2 separate regions of the Homo sapiens genome follow, and region 2 is linked to region 1. Evidence: promoter capture Hi-C in human tissues and cell types (Jung and others, 2019). All regions are on one chromosome and are shown on one strand. Each heading gives the region's core, a stretch centred on a gene start or on the middle of the fragment in contact. The rest is flanking DNA. Distances are from core to core; before and after follow the strand shown.

Evidence for each region. The method cuts DNA at HindIII sites, captures the fragments that hold promoters and counts their contacts. A contact is called where the count stands out against the background at its distance.
Region 2: a contact is called between a fragment that was not itself captured here and the fragment with the promoter of CAMKK1 in region 1, in 2 of the 25 tissues and cell types used here (adrenal gland and lymphoblastoid cells).

Annotation. Positions count from the first base shown.
Region 1 is chr17:3,890,280-3,894,306 of GRCh38, reverse strand. CAMKK1 (calcium/calmodulin dependent protein kinase kinase 1) reads left to right here and starts at 1,254. Exons shown (of 16, transcript NM_032294.3): 1 at 1,254-1,368. RefSeq lists silencers at 808-1,347, 1,378-1,557, 1,698-1,947. The HindIII fragment of the contact is 23,333 bases long and covers 1-4,027 here.
Region 2 is chr17:3,762,429-3,766,248 of GRCh38, reverse strand. ITGAE (integrin subunit alpha E) reads left to right here. Exons shown (of 31, transcript NM_002208.5): 3 at 2,289-2,380. Among named protein-coding and RNA genes, the nearest start is that of ITGAE, 37 kb to the left of the region's middle. RefSeq lists an enhancer at 2,471-2,570. The HindIII fragment of the contact is 6,528 bases long and covers 1-3,820 here.

The DNA of each region.
Region 1 (4,027 bases), core at 5-2,504:
ATGCGACAGGCTGTGTGCTGGACGAATCAGGCACAGTGCTTGCCATCCAGGAGCTCCCAGTCCCAATGAGGAACCAGCAGGTAAACAGATGCCAGGTACAAGGAAGTACCTGGGTGGGGCCACTAACCCATGCTGGAAGTGGGGAGGTCATGGAGAAGGTTTCCAGGCAGAAGTAGGATTGAATTGAACCCTGAAAGACGAGTAGGCGTTAAACAGGCAGGTGGCTGGGAGTAAGGCTATACAGGGCTTGATTAGACCTATTCTCACGGTGAGCCATAGAAAATGCCTCTCGGTGGACTTGTGTTCCTGAAAACTTGCTCTGGGTGCCAGGGAGAGAAAGGCTAGTAGGAGGTGAGACTGGATGGGGCTGGAGGCCAGGGAGGAGGCTGCTGCAGCAATCAGGGACAAGATGGTGGTAGCCTGAGCTAAGGGAGGGGAAGTGGGGTGGAGAGGAGTGGGCCGATTCCAGGGATAGTTAAGAGGCAGTATGGCAGGGCCTGGAGATGGACTGGTTGGAGCAGGAAACAGGGAGGCAGCAGGTGACTCCCAGGCTCCTGGCTCCACTTCGAGACAGGGACGCAGGAGGTTAGATTTGGGGGAAGGATATGGGGCAAGTGGTGGTGCCAGAGGATTCACACGCGGAGGCGTTAGGGGAAGAGGTGGCGGCAGAGTCCCCAGGAACAGCCACAGCGAAGGTCACCTCACTGTCCTGCTGAGTTCCCTCTACTCCCTCGGCCCTCGCTAGGCCATTCCTGTCGCCGGCTCACCGAGCAAGCACTTCACTCTGTGCTAAGCCACCTCTCGGCCTCTCTGCCCCCGCCCCGCAGAAGCTACACTCCTGGGCCTGCCATTCAAGGCCTTCCTCCCCGGGCCTCGCCCCTCCCTCGCACGCACCGCGCCTCGCCCGGGAGGGAGGGGCGCTCTGGCTCCTGCAGGCCGGGATGGGGGCGCAAAGGGTTTGGCGGGGAAGCACGGTCCCCTGCAGGCCCAGGAGAAGGGCCCACGCCGCGGCCGGGAGGGACTTCGGGGACCCCAGGACGCCGGGGGCGTGGCGAGGTCGGCCCCGCCGCAGGGGAGGGAGGGCCCCTACCGCGCCGCCCACCGCGGTCCCTTAGTCCAGGAGGGGGCGGGAGTCCCGGGCTCCGATTGGGCGGCGCTGGCGGGGCCGTTCGCTCCGACCAATGAGCGCCGGCCGGGCGCGGCGGTGGGCGGGGCAGCGAGCGCTGCCCGGAGCCGCGGCGCCCGCGGGCTGAGCTCGGCGATCTGGGCCCCAGCGAGGCGGTGGGGCGGGGCGGGGCGGGGCGGGGCGCGCAGCAGGAGCGAGTGGGGCCGCCCGCCGGGCCGCGGACACTGTCGCCCGGCGCCCAGGTAGGGATCGGCGGGGCGGGGACGCGGGCGAGGAGCAGGAGGACGAACGCCTTAACACCTGCCCCGAGCCTGCAAGGGAGAGGCGGGGGGGGTCTGCCAGGCCGCGTCTACGAGGGAGCTGGGATCTGGTCAGGGCGGGGATCCTTCCCCTTCTGTCTGCGGGGCCGGGTCTGCGGGGTGCCTCGCGGAGTCTGCTCGGGTCTGCGCCGGCCGCCGGGACCGCATCGCCGCGGGTGCCCCGCCGTCTGCGTTCTTCCCCGCTTCTGTCTGCGGACCGCATCCATCCCCGGTGCACTGTCCCCCGCGCCCGGCTCCTGGTGGAGGCCACGTCTGTGCGGAGTGGGCCCGGCCCGGGGCACCCACGTGCGGTTCTCCGCGGAGCGCTCCTCCCACGGCCCGCCGGAGCGTCTTCCTGCAGGAGCCGGGGGCGGGGTGGGAGATGAATGGGGCGGCGGCGGCGCGCGGCTCAGGCTGCGCAGGGTCCTGCCTTGGCTGGGGCGAGAGGGGGCGGCAGAGGCGGGCGCTGCGGCTTCGGGGCCCGGGAGGCGCAGGGCTGGTGGCTGGGGGGGTGTCCACGTGCGCAGGGACCTGCGTGTGCTGTTTGGAGGCGGGTGTGCGTGTGTCACGTGGACGCGGGAGTGTGCCTGTGTCTGCGTGGGGGGTGCAGGACAGGATGGAGTGGTGTGTGAGGGCGGGTCACGCGGACACGGGCGTGTGCCTGTCAGGGGAGGGGGTGTGCTCAAGTCTTGGCGTTGCAGGGCTGTGCAGAGAAGGCTGTGTCACAGGCCACAGGACCGGGCCTTGGTGGTGTCCGCAGGGCGGGCACAGGAGTGTGGGAGGGGCACACAGCCTGTGCGCGCTGGAGGATCCCAGGGAAGTGGCGCTGGCCTCCCCAAGCCCTGCCCTCTTTCCTCCAGTACATACAAATTGACCCCCCACTGCGTCCCAGGCGCACACACTCTGGGGACCCTTCGCCTCTTCCTCGGTCTCCCACCGTCAGTCCTCACAGCAGCCATGGGAGTCGTTTTAAACCTCACCTAACCGAGGCACTCCCCTGCTCACAACCTCCCCCTGGCTTTGGGGGCCTCCTGGGCTCTGTCCACCAAGCTCTCCCCACCCCCAAACCAAGCCCGGAGTCCCAGCCAGGAAATGACTCTCCTATATGCACAGTGCAAACTTCCATCCTCGCCTCATCCTGAAATCCTGCTCAGTGCTCAGAAGAGAGCTCAGGTGCCACCTCCTCTAGGAAGCCATCCCTGAGGCCAGCACAATGAGTGAGGGGGCTTTCTCTCCAGATGTAACTCCTCTTGCTATCAGGTGCCTCTTATGTGGGGAAGACTCCACTCCAGCCACGTCAGCCTCCCTGCTGTTCTTCATACTGAGCAAGCACTGTCCCCTCATGGCGTTTGCACCTGCTGGTCCCTGCACCTGAAATGCTCTTCCCCAGATAACTACACTGCCTACTGCCCCTTCCTTCCTTCAGGTGTCTGCTCCAGTCCTGCTCCCAAAAGGCCTTCCTCAACTACACTGTATCAGCAGCATCTCCCAGCCCCTTTCTCTTGATCCTTCTTACTCGGCTGTATTTTTCTTCCTATATGTACCACTTGACATATCATATCTGAATCACTGGCTTTCTTGTTTGTTGCTTCTTGCCCCCACGAGAAATTAAACTGTATGAGAGCAGAGACTTGGTCTTTTTGGTTCACTGCTGTATCTCCCCACACAGGCTTGCACAGAGTCTGGCAGACAGCAGGTGCTCCGTGACTATTTGTGCTTGCATCCCAGGCGTCCATGTCCCTGGCTGCTCCCTAGCCTGTGACCCCCCCCCCAACCTTGCCCCCAGTCTGAGGCCACTTCTGCTCCTCTATCCATGACATTCCGAGTTCCTGGAAGGCCAGGTCTGGGAGAACTATAACCACATTTGCATGTTGGAAATCCCTCCAGCAGCTGGTGTGGAGGATGGGGTAGGGTGGGGTGGAGGTGTTAGCCTGGAGTCAGGGAAGACCCACATAGTGGGAAACGAAGCAGTGGGTAGAATCTGGACTTCTAAGGGGTTTGACTTGGTGAGCTCACCCAGCAGGTAGTGGGGAGATCAAGGAGGGCTCAGAAGAGGCGATGTCTGAGCTGTCCTCCAGGCAGCAGAGGAGAGGGAGGTGTGTTCCTGGCAGAAGGCACAGCTTGTACTGAGGCCTGGCAGCAGAACAGAGTATGCAATTTGGGAAGCTGTGGTGTGGCTGCAGTGGAGAGTAAGTGTGGGGTTGTGGGGAGCAAGGGTGGGCAACAGGGAAAGGACGAGTGACAAGGAGGGCTCCCGGATTGCTGACCTGGGTCAGGAAAGAATGGGGAGGGTGTGGTACCCGTCTCGCAATGGAGACAGAGGAGGACGAGCAGGTTTGGGGAAGATGCTGAGTTGAATCTGGGGCCTGTTGGATCTGAGCTGCTCGGGAACATGGACGGGGAGGTGGCAGCTAGCTGGAAAGAGTGGGGCTGGAGGCACAGACCTGGTGTGGAGGATGAGGAGGGGCAGAGGATGAGGCCTGGAGACCATCAGCCTCCGTGGGTGGGCCAGGACGATGCGCTGGGGGTAGCTGTGCTGAGTCAGGCAACAGCCCGTATTGGTGCTTGGGGGCTCCCCAGGGATGGTGGGAGCGGGCGTCCT
Region 2 (3,820 bases), core at 1,145-3,644, 130 kb after region 1:
CCTGGGGGCTTCTGGGATGGGAGAGGCCTCCTTGGGAGGCTCCCAGCATTCCCTGCAGTCTCGCCACTTCTCCCCTCTGCCTGCCTCAACGTCCCCCTGAGTCCCTGCGGCTCGCCCATGCCACCGTTTTCGGGGCCTCCCTCATAGAAGGACCCTTGTGATTTCACTGAGCCCACCTAGATAATCCAGGATAACCCCCCCATCTCATGATCCTTAATTTATTAACTCACATCTACGAAGTCCCTTTTGCCATAAAAGGCAACATATTCACAGGTTCTGGGGATTAGGACGTGGCCTTCTTTGGGGGGCCATTATTCTGCCTACGATAGCAGATGGAGAGGTGGGAATTTCAGCCGTTATAGGTGTATTGAAGCCATGGGCTTGGAAGGGATCACTAGGGAGAGTGTGCCGGCAAGGAAGACAGTGACCCAGCCCCCAGATCCTGGTGGCAGATAGAGGTCAGACCGCGAAGGCACCAGCGAAGCCTTGAGGAATGAGGAGAGAGTAGGCAGAAATCTAGAAAAAAGTGTTCGAAGGAGATGGTTACTCATGTTTGGGGCTTCTGAGAGGTTGAGGAAGATGAGGACAGAGAGCGGTCCGTTGGATGTGGCATTGTGGGGGCCCCTGGTGACCTTCACAGGAACTGACTCAGAGGGTGGGAAGTCAGCTTGGGGTGGGTTCAGTTGTGGGTGGGCGGATGGACGCACAGGTGCAGACTTTCTTATTATTCTGTAAGCCATGCCGATACGTGAATATATTTCATAATGTATTAAAATGTAGAGTGATAGGAGTTGAGGAAGTGGAGACGGTATCTCATTTCTGCCCCACCTTCCTGTGCTCTTTAGTCTGTCCCAACCCACTGTAGCCACATCATGACCTTTTTTTTTTTTTTTTTTTTTTGAGACAGAGTCTCGCTCTGTCACCCAGGCTGGAGTTCAGTGGCGTGATCTCGGCTCACTGCAACCTCTGCCTCCTGGGTTCACACCATTCTCCTGCCTCAGGCTCCCGAGTAGCTGGGACTACAGGCACCCGCCACCACGCCCGGCTAATTTTTTGTATTTTTAGTAGAGACGGGGTTTCACCATGTTAGCCAGGATGGTCTCGATCTCCTGACCTCGTGATCTGCCTGCCTCGGCCTCCCAAAGTGCTGGGATTACAGGCGTGAGCCACCGCGCCCGGCCTCATCATGAGCTTTTGAAAGCACAGCTAATCATGTGCTTCCCCTTTATAAAGTCCTCCATGACTTCTACTGCCCTCTGCAGAAAGACCTTGGACTTGGTTCACTGTTAACCACCAAGCCCCTCGTCCCCTCCCCACCATCCCCTATGACAACCCCCGGAGCTCACTGTCTGTCTCAGGACAGCCCAGTTCTCCTGGGTAACGTGGATGGTGAGAATGTTGAGGCTGTCCCTGGAATCTGCCGTCTCCCTGGACTGGGCCTGGGTGGGGGCAAGAAGTTTGCAGTCAGGAGGCGCAGCTCTTGAGGCTGCCTTAATCAGGCTGAGGCAGCCACCCCCAAACCTCCAGTTCTTTTATTTATTTATTTATTTATGAGACGAAGTCACACTCTGTCCCCCAGGCTGGAGTGCAGTGGCGTGATCTCCGCTCACTGCAACCTCTGCCTCCCAGGTTCAAGCAATTCTCCTGCCTCAGCCTCCTGAGTAGCTGGGACTACAGGCACACGCCACCATGCCCGGCTAATTTTTGTATTTTTAGTAGACACGGGGTTTCACCATATTGATCAGGCTGGTCTCAAAGTCCTGACCCCAGATGATCCACCTGCCTCAGCCTCCCAAAGTGCTGGGATTACAGGCGTGAGCCGCCGCGCCCGGCCTCCAAACCTCCAGTTCTGACTGACCCACAGGATAGGGGCACCAGCGTACTCTTCTCAGGAACTAAGGCCAGGCAGGGCAGGCCCCCTGGGTGGCCCACGAGGAAGCCAGCACTGCCCCCAACAGAACCAACCCCAACGCTGGTGGTTTTCTGGCCTCCCCATCCCTGTCCCCATAAGAGAGCAGAGTTTTTATTAACCATCAGTATCACCCCTTCTTTGTCAGGGTGGGCAGCAGGCAGAGAGGGGTTGCATTTAACCATTTCCTGCCTGGTGCTGTGTAGAAGCAGAGGTTGGGCAAATGTCTTCCCCATAATCCAGAGTCTGGGCTAGGAATCTGCCGGCCAGACAGGGAGCTTGTGAGTGCAGGCAACTGGAATGGGAAGGGTGCTGGGCAGGCAGGGAGAAGACGAGGAACATCAGCCAGCTCAGCTTTGCAACCTCCCCTCCCACTCAGGCTCCTGGTCACCAGCCCCAGAACCAAGAGGACACCAGGGCCCCTCCATCGATGTTCCCTTGTCCAGGATGAAATCCTTTGCCATCCTGTAGGTAAGTCAGCCCCAACTCCAGGGAATGCTCCCCAGGACCCCCTTTCTAGCAAAATCCCCCTCATCTAAACTCAAACCATTCCAACCCCAGCCCTGCCTCATCCAGCCCGTTCACCCCTAGACTCCAGCATAACCCACAGCAAGATTCCATCCCAATGCCCAGTCCCACCCCAACCCAATCCTAATCCCCAGCCACCTTTCCTGACACAGTCCTAGCAACAGAAATGATACCTACAGCGTATTGCGTGCCCACCCTGTGCCCGGCAGTCCTCTGAGTCATTCTGTTTTCATCCTCAAAACCGCGCCATTTATAAGAGAGGAAGCTACAGTTCAGAGAATGTAGGTCTTTTGGTTGCCAGTATGACAAAGTTCACACTTTTAGTGTTGGTGGCTGATTCGAAACTCTAGCCCTTCCTGATGCAAGTCATCACACCTCAGTGCAATTCACCCCCTACATATTCAGTCTAACTGTGGCCACCCTAGTAACTAGCATGGGGCCTGACATATATTAGGTACTCAATAAATGCCATTTGAATGAATGAATGAATGAATGAATGAATGAACCTGATTCACTCATTAAACTCTATCCATCCTACCCAGTCAAACTCAGGTCACAGATTTACTGACAACCTCTTGGCTATATATATATAAATAAATAGAATCCTTGTCTTGTCTGAGGCTGGGCGCCGTGGCTCACGCCTGTAATCTTAGCACACTGGGAGGCCAAGGCGGGTAGATCATTTGAGGTCCAGAGTTCGAGACCAGCCTGGCCAATATGATGAAACCCCATCTCTACCAAAAATACAAAAATCAGCCAGGCGTGGTGGTGCATGCCTACAATCCCAGCTATTTGGGAGGCTGAGGCAGAAGAATCGCTTGAACCCAGGAGGTGGAGGTTACAGTGAGCTGACATTGCACCACTGGACTCCAGCCTGGGCAACAGAGCAAGACTGTTTAAAAAAAAAAAATCCTGCCAGGCACGGTGGCTCATGCCTGTAATCCCAACACTTTGGGAGGCTGAGGTGGGCCGATCATGGGTCAGGAGATCGAGACCATCCTAGCTAACACGGTGAAATCCCGTCTCTACTAAAAATACAAAAAGAAATTAGCCAGGTGTGGTGACGGGCACACGTAGTCCCAGCTACTCAGGAGGCTGAGGCAGGAGAATGGCGTGAACCTGGGAGGCGGAGCTTGCAGTGAGCCGAGATTGCGCCACTGCACTCCAGCCTGGGCGACAGAGCAAGACTCTGTCTCAAAAAAAAAAAAAAAAAAAAAAAAAATCCTTGTCTGAGAGGCACTGAGTTGAACAGACTCAATCTCAGTCCAGCAGGGTTGACTGAGTGATTCCATGACTGAAAAATAAGACAGTATCCTGAGGCTGACAGTGGGGAGGACGAGGAAGGAGCTACCATTTCTGCCCCTGAGGCTGGGGGCAGTAAGA